Regions from separate parts of the Homo sapiens genome. Here regions 1, 2 and 4 are each linked to region 3. The links are contacts of gene promoters, found by promoter capture Hi-C in blood cells and fetal thymus (Javierre and others, 2016). All regions are on one chromosome and are shown on one strand. The core of a region is centred on a gene start or on the middle of the fragment in contact, and the rest is flanking DNA. Distances in the headings are between cores, read along the strand shown.

Region 1 (2,700 bases), core at 152-2,651, 370 kb after region 3:
CTTTACCAATTACAGGTTCATTTCCACTTTATTACTCTTGCCTTCTTGATAAATGCTATTAAAATGCCCAATCATAGAATTGCCCCTGCTTCCTGACAGCATCCAATCCCAGGCAAAGCTCCACTTCCTTAAACCCTTTGCAGACTCATCTAACACAAGCACAACTCTTATAATAACTTCTTTCTGGCATCCTCTTATGAGATACCTTACAGTTCCCAAAGGCATGTTGTCTCTTGTTACAACAAGCAAATAAACCCAAATCTTTCTTTGATTTCAGGTGTCTCCCTGGTGGACTTCAACTAAAGTCATCAAAAGTAGTTTGGAGTTGTATTGGACAATAAGCTTTCTGCACTATGCATAAATGAAAATCAATTCAAGCTGTTAAGAGATATGATTACACAAATGTTAGCTAATATTTATTGAATGTTTACCATGTGCCAGATGCAGGGCTAAGAGCTTTACATGCATTATATCGTTTCATTTTTATGAAATAACTTTATGAAGTGGTTGATATTAGTATTCCCATATCACAGATAAGTAAATTGAAGGGTTGCGAGGTTAAGTAACTAATCCAATATCACACAGCTAAGCAGCAGTGGAATCTGAATCCAGACTTTATCAAGACCAATATTTCTAACTATTAATAGATTATCCCCCACCAATGTGTATCATAATACTGACTTAAATCTAACAGCCAGTGATTCCATATCTCCTCAGCCTGATAGCCAACTAACTTAGCACCCCACTAACTGGCACTGTCTGGAGTTCTACCTTTTCCAATCATCTAGAAACAGATTTCACATGTTCTTTATTGATTCCCTCAGGGACAGCACAAGGGAAGAATGGTAAGAATTTTATGGCTAAAGCAATTTTGAAAACCACGTATGTAACCTTCTCTTCTATAACAGTCACAAATCTGGATTCCAAATCCTGTACGGACTCGAATTCTTAGGATATTTAAATGCAGAAACTTTTTCTTGGAAATAAAGTATACATTGTATTTCTTTTTCTAATCCAGTAAGTCATCACAAGAAGAAATAATCAATATATTAAATGATTTTACTGTTTCTTATTTGTTTCTATGTATTACTTTTCACAAAAGGTAATTTCCCCCCACAGCTGGAAAAATAAAGGAGCAGAGGCCTGGAGACTCTTGGCATGGCCGAGGAGCACAGGAGGTGAGGACAGCCTTGGGGTAAAGGACAGCCGCCGAGGAAGATGAGCTGCTTCCAGGGAACAGACTCTGAGAGAAGAGGTGTACACATTTTAACCAAAAGAAGAAAACCAGGAAATTGGAGTTGTCTGAATGAACAATCATTCCTAAGGAACGCTGTGAGGTGAAACCTGATTCCTGTTTCAGACTCCCCCAACACCTTCCTGTCTCTGCCCTAGTCTGCAAAGATTCTTAACTATCATTCCTTCATTCCACTCATTCATTTAGCTACCGATTATCCTAACAGTGGCGCAACATTGTAGTATGTGCAACATAAAAGACACATTACAGTAGGGCAGAAAACATAAGACATTGTCCTATGAAAAGTTTCGTAAGACGATAAGCAGCTAACATTAATTAATCAAACAAGGAGTATTGTATTAATTCAGAGGCAAGAGCACTGGAATCTGGGATGGGCTTGGGAACAGGTGAGCTCACAGAATGACTCTTGCCTGTGGCTAGTGCCATATATAATTATGCATGTTTAGTCATGAATCTCCTGTTTCCTTGGTTTCTGCCTTGTCTGCCCGCTAGATTGCCTCACACAACACAGGGTCTCAAAAGTAGAGCTCCCTCCTTGAAATGTTTTGAGATCCAGGTCTTTCTTATATCCTCTCCCCTGACTTATATCCCTCCTTCTGTTCTTGTTTTGCTCCGTGTGAGGAGAGAGCTCGCCAACCCATCTGACCAACGAATTTGGGCTCATGGATTAAAATGGCACCACGCTAGGAAATGTGCCAGCTAAAGATTGATTCTATTATTGGGACTTTGAGAAAGGCATCGAGTCAGTCTGAGGCAGTCATACCATGGTTGCACTATATGCTGCCTATTCTGTTCCTTTGGAGAGCCCAGCTTCAGGAACCCCACCTCAGTTTATGTTAAAACATAGCCCTGTGTAAATGTAGCTTTCTCCATCCACCCCAGTGGAGGAGTGAAAGTCAACAAAACAAATTAGGTAAGTCTAAATTGATTCAGCAAGACAGGCCAATTATTAACTTATTTTGAGTGCACTATCATATTGGAGTAGTTCCTTTTAAAGAGAAAAATGAGAGAAGACTGAGAAACATCAATGTTTTTAATACTTTGAATTATCATGTTATAAAAATGATTTATCTAAAAATATTAACTATATTTTTTCTTCTTACTCTTTTAGGTCTTTCTAGATAAAATTATTTGCTTAGTCATTTTCAGTTTGGTTCATTTTCAGTGTTTCATGGTGAAAAGAAAACAGGTTTTGGAGTTAGAATCTAAGCTTGACCAGGTACTAACTATGTACCTTGAAAAAGGTACTGCATTTTTCAGAGACCCAGTAAATAAGGCATGTCTTAAAGAGGTATTATAAATGTAGAATAACATAATGAAGTTAAAGTGCACACTGTAATAGGTACTTACTAGGACAGTTTTATTTGTGATTGCTAATCATTATTTTGGAGGGTAATACCTTTCATTTTTCAACCAAAGTACCTAAAGATTATATATAGAATATA
Region 2 (2,700 bases), core at 193-2,692, 420 kb after region 3:
CAAAAGAGGCTCTCAGATGATCATATGGGGTTGGTTATGACTGGACAATAACAAGGTAAGCAACCGGGCTTAGGAGTTTTGCTACAGTGCTCTTCTAACAGGAAACTATATTTTCTTTTTTAAAAATTTTATTGTAGTGACAGGGTCTTGCTATGTTGCTCAGGCTGCTCTTGACCTCCTGGCTTCAAATAATCCTCCCACCTCAGTCTTCCAAAACACTGAGATTACAGGTATAAGCCACCATGCCTGGCCTGAAGCTTTATATTTTCTATCTATCCAATGTGAACCCAGATTTTGCCCCATGAAGAGAACTCTAAGGGTGTATTCACCTTTTTTGAAGAGCTTCTTTTTAATTCTTTTGAAGTTTTGAGTTACTCATATTCTTAGAGGAAGGTATGACTAACAGGAAGTCTTTGGAAAAGGCTGGGTGAGAACTGTCAAAAGGCTGCAATCAAGATATGTGCTGTGGCTTGGGTCTTCTTCTGAGGTCTTCTCCCAAGCTCTCATGGTTGTTTGCAGGTTCATTTCCTCCCAGCTTGAGAACTTGTAATGCCTTGCTTTTTTAAAGTAAGCAAGGGAGCATCTCTGATAGTGGGGAAGGCCTAAATCTTCTTTTAAAGGGCTTATCTGATTAGTTTGGGACAGACCAAAATAATCTCCTTTTGATTAACAGAGATTGATAAACTCAAAGTCATTCTGATTAGGGACTTTATATCTGTAAAATCTCTTCATCTTTGCCAGAAAATGCAAACTAATTGCAGGAGTGATATTTATCATATTAACAGGTCTACCCACACTCAAGAGAAGGCGATAACACAGAGTATGTACACCATGGGGAGGAAATCTTGGCAGCCATTGTAGAATTCTTTCTATGACACTTATGTCAGCATTTTTGTTGTACTCTGGAGATCACAGAGTGAAAAGCACCATTTTCTGTGATTGTAGATATTTGTTACAAATTCGAGACTGAAACATATGCTTTCAAAATTGACAGAACAGAATATAGGGTGGTCAAGGCACCAGACGAAATTAAATTTTATTCTTCCATTATGTTAAATTAGCATCTTTTCCTTTCCGAAATCACTTACATTGCTTTCTCATATGTTAATCAGACACCTGTGGCATTTTTATAGTAAATGCAAAGTGAGGATTTTAGGTGATCAAAATGAATAGGCCTAACTAGTTCACAGCTTTGAGATGTGGCCACACTGCTTATTCATGGAGAGAACAGAGCTTACAGAGTATCCTGCATATTTACACTTGTATCAATCAGCTTGTGCTGCCATCACAGAATACAACAGACTGAGTGGCTTCAACAACAGAAATTTATATGTTCAAAGTTCTGGAGGCTGAATGTCCAAGATCAAGGTACTGGCAGGCTTAGTTTTTGGTGAAGCCTTGTCTTAGTCAAATTGGGCTGCTATAACAAAATACCCTAGACTGGGCAGCTTAGAAACAATAGAAACTTATTTCTTACAGTTATGGAAGCTGGTAAGGTTAAGAACAAGGCACTGGCAGATTGAATGTCTGCTGAGGGGCCACTTTCTGGTGATAGATGTCCCCTTCTTCCTTTGTCCTAACATGGCCAGCTCATGCAAGGAGACAGAGAGGGCTCTGGTGTTTCTTCCTTTTCATGTAAGAACACCAGTCCTATAAGATTAGGGTCCAACCCTTATAATCTTATTTAAACTTAATCATCTCCTTGAGGGCCCCATCTGTAAATACAGTCACATTGGGGGTTAGAGATTAAGATACGAATTTGTTGGGGGACACAACTCAGTCCATAACAATTTTCAAAATATCTGTGGGCAATGAAAAACCTGTGGATTTCCTGCTTATCATGACCCCAGATAAGTTTAAAAATCACTAATTACCATTCATAAATATATGCACATATTCCAAAAAAACTTTCCATCTGTTTTCTTTGCTAAAATAATAGAGTATCCAAGGCAACAAGGATACCTGTGCTACCCTGAGCAGTGCAGCAGAGCAACCTCTGTCTTTTTGATTCTGACAAAATTAATGCAAACAAGCCAGTTGTATCATTTTTTTCCTAGTAATGAGACAGGAAAATTCCCCATGGGGCTTCATAAATGGAAAATAACATAGTTACATAGCCAAGTACATGTTTATCTCTAGTGACCCTCTCTAAGGGAAAGCACAGCACACAGAGTGTAGACTTCTCCTACCCAGAGTTAGGTATTAATGTCAGGATCTGTGGTTGAGATTGCTTTTTATAACCCGATTTATACTTTCTCCCTCTCTTGTTAGAGCCCCTGTTTTAGAATGGGGTGTCAATGTGCCCTGTTAAGAAACTACATTTTCTATCCTTTCTTGTAGCTATAAATCATCAATGCAACATAGATTATTGTCTGAGACTCATGAGAAGGCTCTTACAAAGAGAGCAGATAGCTAGCATGTGCCCTTGTCAGCCCTTACCTCCCCAACCTTCCTCTTGTTTCCTGCTTGGAGTACAGATTTGATATGTGCAAATATAGCAGCCATCTTGGATGACTGGAACTTCAGGAACCATCTTGAACAAGGGATAATTTCAAAAATGGAAGCCTAATATTAAGAAAGATGGACCTAAAACATAGATGAAGCCAAGGTCCATAATGATGCTTCATAAAGCTTCCATACCAACCCTAGATGGTTGAACTCTTCCATGTGAGGAAGAAATACACATCTATCTTACTTAGA
Region 3 (2,700 bases), core at 14-2,513:
TTCATTTCAATGTGCCATAAATTTCAACTCCACAAGTCAGATTCAGAATACTAACAATTAAGTTATGCAACATAGGAATCCAAAGAAACAAGAATACTAAATTTGATGGCCTGCTCCCCTTTAAAAAATGTCTTAATGGAGCCTAACCTTTTCCTTTTACTGACAATTCTAAGCAAAACAAAGCCCCACTCTAAATCCGCGGGAAATGGCCCTACTTCAACATTTGAACTATAGTAACAATTATAATCTTTCACCTTCTCTGAATAAAGACACTCAGTAATAAGGAAAAGCAACTACCAGTTTAAGTCTGAAAGACTGTTTAGAGTTTATTTCTTTCAAACTCCAATATGTTTAAGGCCATTTGTCTTACTAGAAAATGTCCAAAATTGCAAAACATTAAAATAATCAGCAACTTTAGACTGAGTATGTTATTCGTAATTTCTGCCTTTCTTTACTGTCTAATTTGTATTTTATGAATTTGTCATAGAGGAGCAGACCTGGGTCGGAATCCCAGCTCGCCATCGTTGGTGTGACCAAGCACAACCAACCTCAAACCTCAGTTTTTGGTAAGATGGGGATAACACCTCGCAGAGGTGTTTGTTACGTGAGGACTAGAGGGAATATAAATCTCTTGGTATTTAAGTGCTCGAAAATGTTTCTGAAAGGGACGTAGGGGTCTTTCCAAAATACACTCCTTGGAGGCACAATAATTAAGGCGTAGGCTCAATTATGCAACACAAGCAACCTAGGAGTTAGAAGCACGGGATCTGGCTGCAGCTCTGCCAAGTATGCAAGCTGCAAGAATGACCCAGAGCGAGTTACTTAATTTCGTGTAAGAAGCAATGCGTGGCCGCTCCTAAGCCATTTCCACTGGGATACCGACCTGACCAGCCCCTGCCCCCCACTCTCCGGCTCTCCCACCCCCCCACCCCGTTCCGACTGTCCCAGAAGCAGCAAAGAAAGCTGCTTCCCAACTGAAGAGCCGAGACAAAGCTTCCTTCTCTTTCTGCCCCTCTGAGCCGCTCGCTGGGGGCCCAGTTTCAGAACCAAGAGCCAGATCCCGTCTTGGGCGCCGAGCCTCGCGCGCCCCCGAGGATAGCAGCCTAGTCCCATGCCATGCACTCCCTCCCTTGGACTCAGGGCCCTCCGCTCAACGGGCCCTACCTCGTTCGCCATGTTCACGGATTCTGGTCGGCGCGGGGGGCTGACATCCGGGGTGGGCCGCGCAGCGACGGAGGCATGGGCGTGGCGAGCGCCTAGCGAGGGGGGCGGGGCGTGGGGGGGGCTTGCAATGGCTCCAACCGGAAGGGCGGTGCTCGAGCTGTGGTGCGTGCCGCTAAGTTGTGCGTTCCAGGGTGCACTCGCCGGCGAGGCTGCACGGCGCCGGTTTCATTGCTAAAATCCGACGGACTTGTTGCAGAACTCGTTTTTTTTGTCGGGAAAGGGCTTCCCCGTGTAACTTTACAGCAGTTATCGTAGATAAGACTTGCAAATTACAGATGTGGACGGTGAGGGAACGGGAATTTCACTGAAAGCGCCTGAGAACCAGTAAGAGACCTGCAACAGCTTTGTGCTCCACTGGCGAATGCTTCCTCCCCTAATACACATTATGTGTGCTTGGAGACACAAGGAGTAAGATACAGCCCCTCAAGGGACTCGTCATAGGGAGAGGACACAGCTTTGGGAATAAAGGGGCCACAAAGGAGGAGAGAGGAGTTTGCTGAAACTTCCCAAGCTCCCATTCCAGCAGTTCCTGAAGGGTAGGTAGGATTTTGGGGAGACAGTAGAACGTGGGCAGAGAACTTTGGAAGGAGGAGATGAGGAGAACAAAAAGTCTCCTGATCCTGGACAGTTTTTTGTGTTAAGAGTGGGCCAGAGTGTAGAGAGAGAGAATGTAGTATTTGTCGGTTTACTCTTTCTTTGTTTGTTTGAGACGGAGTCTCGCACTGTCGCCCAGGCTGGAGTGCAGTGGCGCGATCTCGGGTCACTGCAACCTCCGCCTCCTAGGTTCAAGTGATTCTCGTGCCTCAGCCTCCTGAGTAGTTGGGATCACAGGCACACGCCACCACGCTGGCTCAATTTTGTATTTTTAGTAGAGATTGGGAGTGGGGGCAGGGGGTTGGTCTCACCATGTATGCCAGTCTGGTCTTGAACTCCTAACCTCAAGTGATTCACCCACCTCAGCCTCCCAAAGTGCTGGGATTACGGGCATGAGCCACCGCACCTGGCCTGCCAGTTTACTCTTAAACTCTGTTGTAAACGCTGAATTTTGTTAAAATAGCTCTGTCAGACACACTGCTCTTTTCTGTCTTTCAGTCTTTTTCTTGGCTCTTTTCCGGGTACATATGGTAAGATTGTCCAAAGTCTTTCCGTCCTTTCACTCCACTCTCTCACTCACACTTTGGCTTTTAACGTCTATTTATGGAAAGATGACTACCAGATTATTATCTCCAATCAGGATGGCTCCCCTAAACTCCAGACTTGGACATGTAACTGCCTACTGGATTTCTGTCTCCATTAGGATATCTCACAATCGAATGCAACTCCTAAAACTCCTATTAATATTTTCTCCTTATAGGGACTCTTTCCTCTGTGTGTTGACACTCTCCACATACTTACCCTAGCCAGAAACATGAGAGTCACAACTTCTCCCTCTCCCTCGGTCCCTGCATTCAGTTTGTCACCAAGCCCTAAATATCT
Region 4 (2,700 bases), core at 87-2,586, 310 kb after region 3:
GATGAATACGGATGCAAAAATTATCACCAAAATACTAGCAAACAGAATTCAGAAACACATTAACAAGGTCATTCATCATGATCAAGTGAGATTTGTCCCATAGCTTCAAGGATGGTTCAACATATGCAAATCAATCAATGTGATACATCATATCAACAGAATGAAGGACAAAAATCATATGATCGTTTCCATGGAAGCTGAAAAAGCATTGATAAAATTCAATATTGCATCATGAGATGTTGAAAATCCTGAAAAAACTGGGCATAGAAGGAATGTACCTCAACATAATAAAAGCTATATACGACAGACCCATAGCTAGTATCCTACTGAATGGAGAAAAGCTGAAAGCCTTTCCTCTAAGGTCAGGAACATGATAAAGCTGCCCATTTTTACCACCATTATTCAACATAGTACTGAAATCCTAGCTAGAGTAATCAGACAAAAGAAAGAAAGAAAGGGCATCAAATTGAAAGGAAGAATTCAAATTTATCCTTGTTTGCCCATAATATGATCTTATATTTGGAAAAGCCTAAAGGCTCCAACAAAGAAACTATTAGAACTGATAAACAAATTCAGTAAAGTTTCAGGATACAAAATAAACATACAAAATCAGTAGCATTTCTATACACCAACAGCAAACAATCTGAAACAGAAATCAAGAAAGTAATCTTATTTACAAAAGCAACAAATAAAATAAAATAAAATACCAAGGAATTAACCAAAGAAGTGAAAGATCTCTACAATGAAAAGTATAAAACACTGATGCAAGAAATTGAAGATGCTACAAAAAAATGAAAAGACATTTCATGTTCATGCATTGGAAGAATCAATATTGTTAAAATGTTCATACTACCCAAAGCAGTCTACAGATTCAGTGCAATCCCTATCAAAATACCAGACATTCTTCACAGAAATGGAAAAAACAATCCTGAAATTTATATTGAACCACAGAAGCCCCAGAATAGCCAAAGCTATCCTAAGCTAAAGAAGTGAAGGAATCACATTACCTGACTTTAAATTATAGCACAGAGCTATAATAAGCAAAACAGCATGGTACTGCCATAAAAACAAACAAAAAGACCAATGGAACAGCATAGAGAACTCAGAAACAAATTCATACATCTAGAGTGAACTAATTTTTGATGAAGCCACCAATATCATACATTGGGGAAAGGAGAGTTTCTTCAATAAATAGTTCTGGGAAAAATGGATATCCATATGCAAAAGAATAAAGCTTGACCCCTATCTCTGACTATATACAAAAATAAAATCAAAATGTATTAAATACGTAAATCTAAGGCCTCAAATTATGGAATTACTAAATGAAAACTTTCAGGAAAGTCTCCAAGACGTTGGAGTGGGCAAAGATTTCTTGAGTAATACCCCACAAGCACAGGCAACCAAAGCAAAAACAGACAAATGGGAACACAAAAGGTAAAAAGCTTCTGCACAGCAAAAGAAACAATCAACAAAATGAAGAGTCAATCCACAGAGTGAGAGAAAATATTTGCAATCTACCCATCTGACAAGAGATTAATAACCAGAATAAATGAGGAGCTCAAACAATTCTATAGGAAAAAATTTAATAATCCAATTAAAACATGGGCAAAAGGTCTGAGTAGACATATCTCAAAAGAAGACATACAGATGGCAATCAGCTATATGAAAAGGTGCTTAACATCATTCATCATAAGATAAATGCAAATCAAAACCTCAAGGAGATGCCCTCTCCAGTTAAAATGGCTTTATTCAAAGGCAGGAAATAACAAATTCTAGCAAGGATGTGAAGAAAAGGGAACCCTTGTAAACTGTTAGTGGGGATGTAAATTAGTACAACTCCTAAGCAGAACAGTTTGTCGGTTCCTAAACAAACTAAAAATAGAGTTGCCATATGATCCAGCAGTCTCACTGTTGTGTATACACCCAAAATAAAAGAAATCAGGATATCAAAGAGATATGTGCATTCCCATGTTTGTTGTGGTACTCTTCACAGTGGCCAAGATTTGGAAGCAACCCAAGTGTCCATCAACAAATGAATGGATAAAGAAAATGTGAGGCTGGGTGTGGTGGCTCATGCCTTTTATCTTACCACTTTGGGAGGCAAAGGCAGGAGAACTGCTTGAGTCCAGGAGTTTGAGACCAATGTGGGCAAGATGGCAAGGCCCCATCTCTACATTTTTGTTTTTGTTTTTGTTGTTTAATTACCCAGGCATGGTGGCTCACATCTCTAGACCCAGCTACTCAGGATGCTGAGGCAGTAGGATCCCTTGAGCCTGGGAGTTCAAGGTGGCAGTGAGCCATGATCACACCACTGTACTCCAGCCTGGGTGACAAAGCAAGACCCCATCTTTTAAGAAAAAAAAAAGAAAAGAAAGAAACTGTGGTACATATACACAATGGGGTACTGTTCAGCCATAAAAAATGAGATCCTGTCATTTGCAACAACACTGATGGAACTGGACATCATTATGTAAAGTGAAATAAGCCAGTCACCGAAAGACCCAAACTTCACATGTTTTCACTTATTTGTGGGAGCTAAAAATTAAAACAATTGAATTCATGGAGATAGAGTAGAAAGATGGCTACCAGATGCTGAGAAGGGTAATGGGCGGATCAGGGGAAGTGGGGATGGTAGGTACCAAAATATTGTTGGAATGAATAACAAATTGACAGCACAACAGGGTGACTATAGTCAATAAT

What was found. The method cuts DNA at HindIII sites, captures the fragments that hold promoters and counts their contacts. A CHiCAGO score of 5 or more calls a contact.
Region 1: a fragment that was not itself captured here is called in contact with the fragment with the promoter of ADH5 in region 3 in 1 of 17 cell types (M0 macrophages); the score reaches 5.2 in M0 macrophages.
Region 2: a fragment that was not itself captured here is called in contact with the fragment with the promoter of ADH5 in region 3 in 2 of 17 cell types (activated CD4 T cells and non-activated CD4 T cells); the score reaches 5.6 in activated CD4 T cells.
Region 4: a contact is called between a fragment that was not itself captured here and the fragment with the promoter of ADH5 in region 3, in 1 of 17 cell types (megakaryocytes). The highest score is 5.8, in megakaryocytes.

What each region holds. Positions count from the first base shown.
Region 1 is chr4:99,457,686-99,460,385 of GRCh38, forward strand. No RefSeq gene overlaps it. Among named protein-coding and RNA genes, the nearest start is that of ADH7, 24 kb to the left of the region's middle. The HindIII fragment of the contact is 2,123 bases long and covers 341-2,463 here.
Region 2 is chr4:99,507,524-99,510,223 of GRCh38, forward strand. No RefSeq gene overlaps it. Among named protein-coding and RNA genes, the nearest start is that of C4orf17, 2.1 kb to the right of the region's middle. The HindIII fragment of the contact is 2,374 bases long and covers 256-2,629 here.
Region 3 is chr4:99,087,525-99,090,224 of GRCh38, forward strand. ADH5 (alcohol dehydrogenase 5 (class III), chi polypeptide) reads right to left here and starts at 1,264. Exons shown (of 9, transcript NM_000671.4): 1 at 1,165-1,264. The coding sequence starts at 1,176. LOC100507053 (a long non-coding RNA gene) reads left to right here and starts at 1,333. Exons shown (of 10, transcript NR_037884.1): 1 at 1,333-1,760. RefSeq lists a promoter at 1,209-2,462 and a silencer at 1,247-1,296. The HindIII fragment of the contact is 7,789 bases long and covers 992-2,700 here.
Region 4 is chr4:99,397,298-99,399,997 of GRCh38, forward strand. All of the region lies in intron 3 of LOC102723576 (a long non-coding RNA gene), which reads right to left. Among named protein-coding and RNA genes, the nearest start is that of ADH7, 37 kb to the right of the region's middle. The HindIII fragment of the contact is 208 bases long and covers 1,233-1,440 here.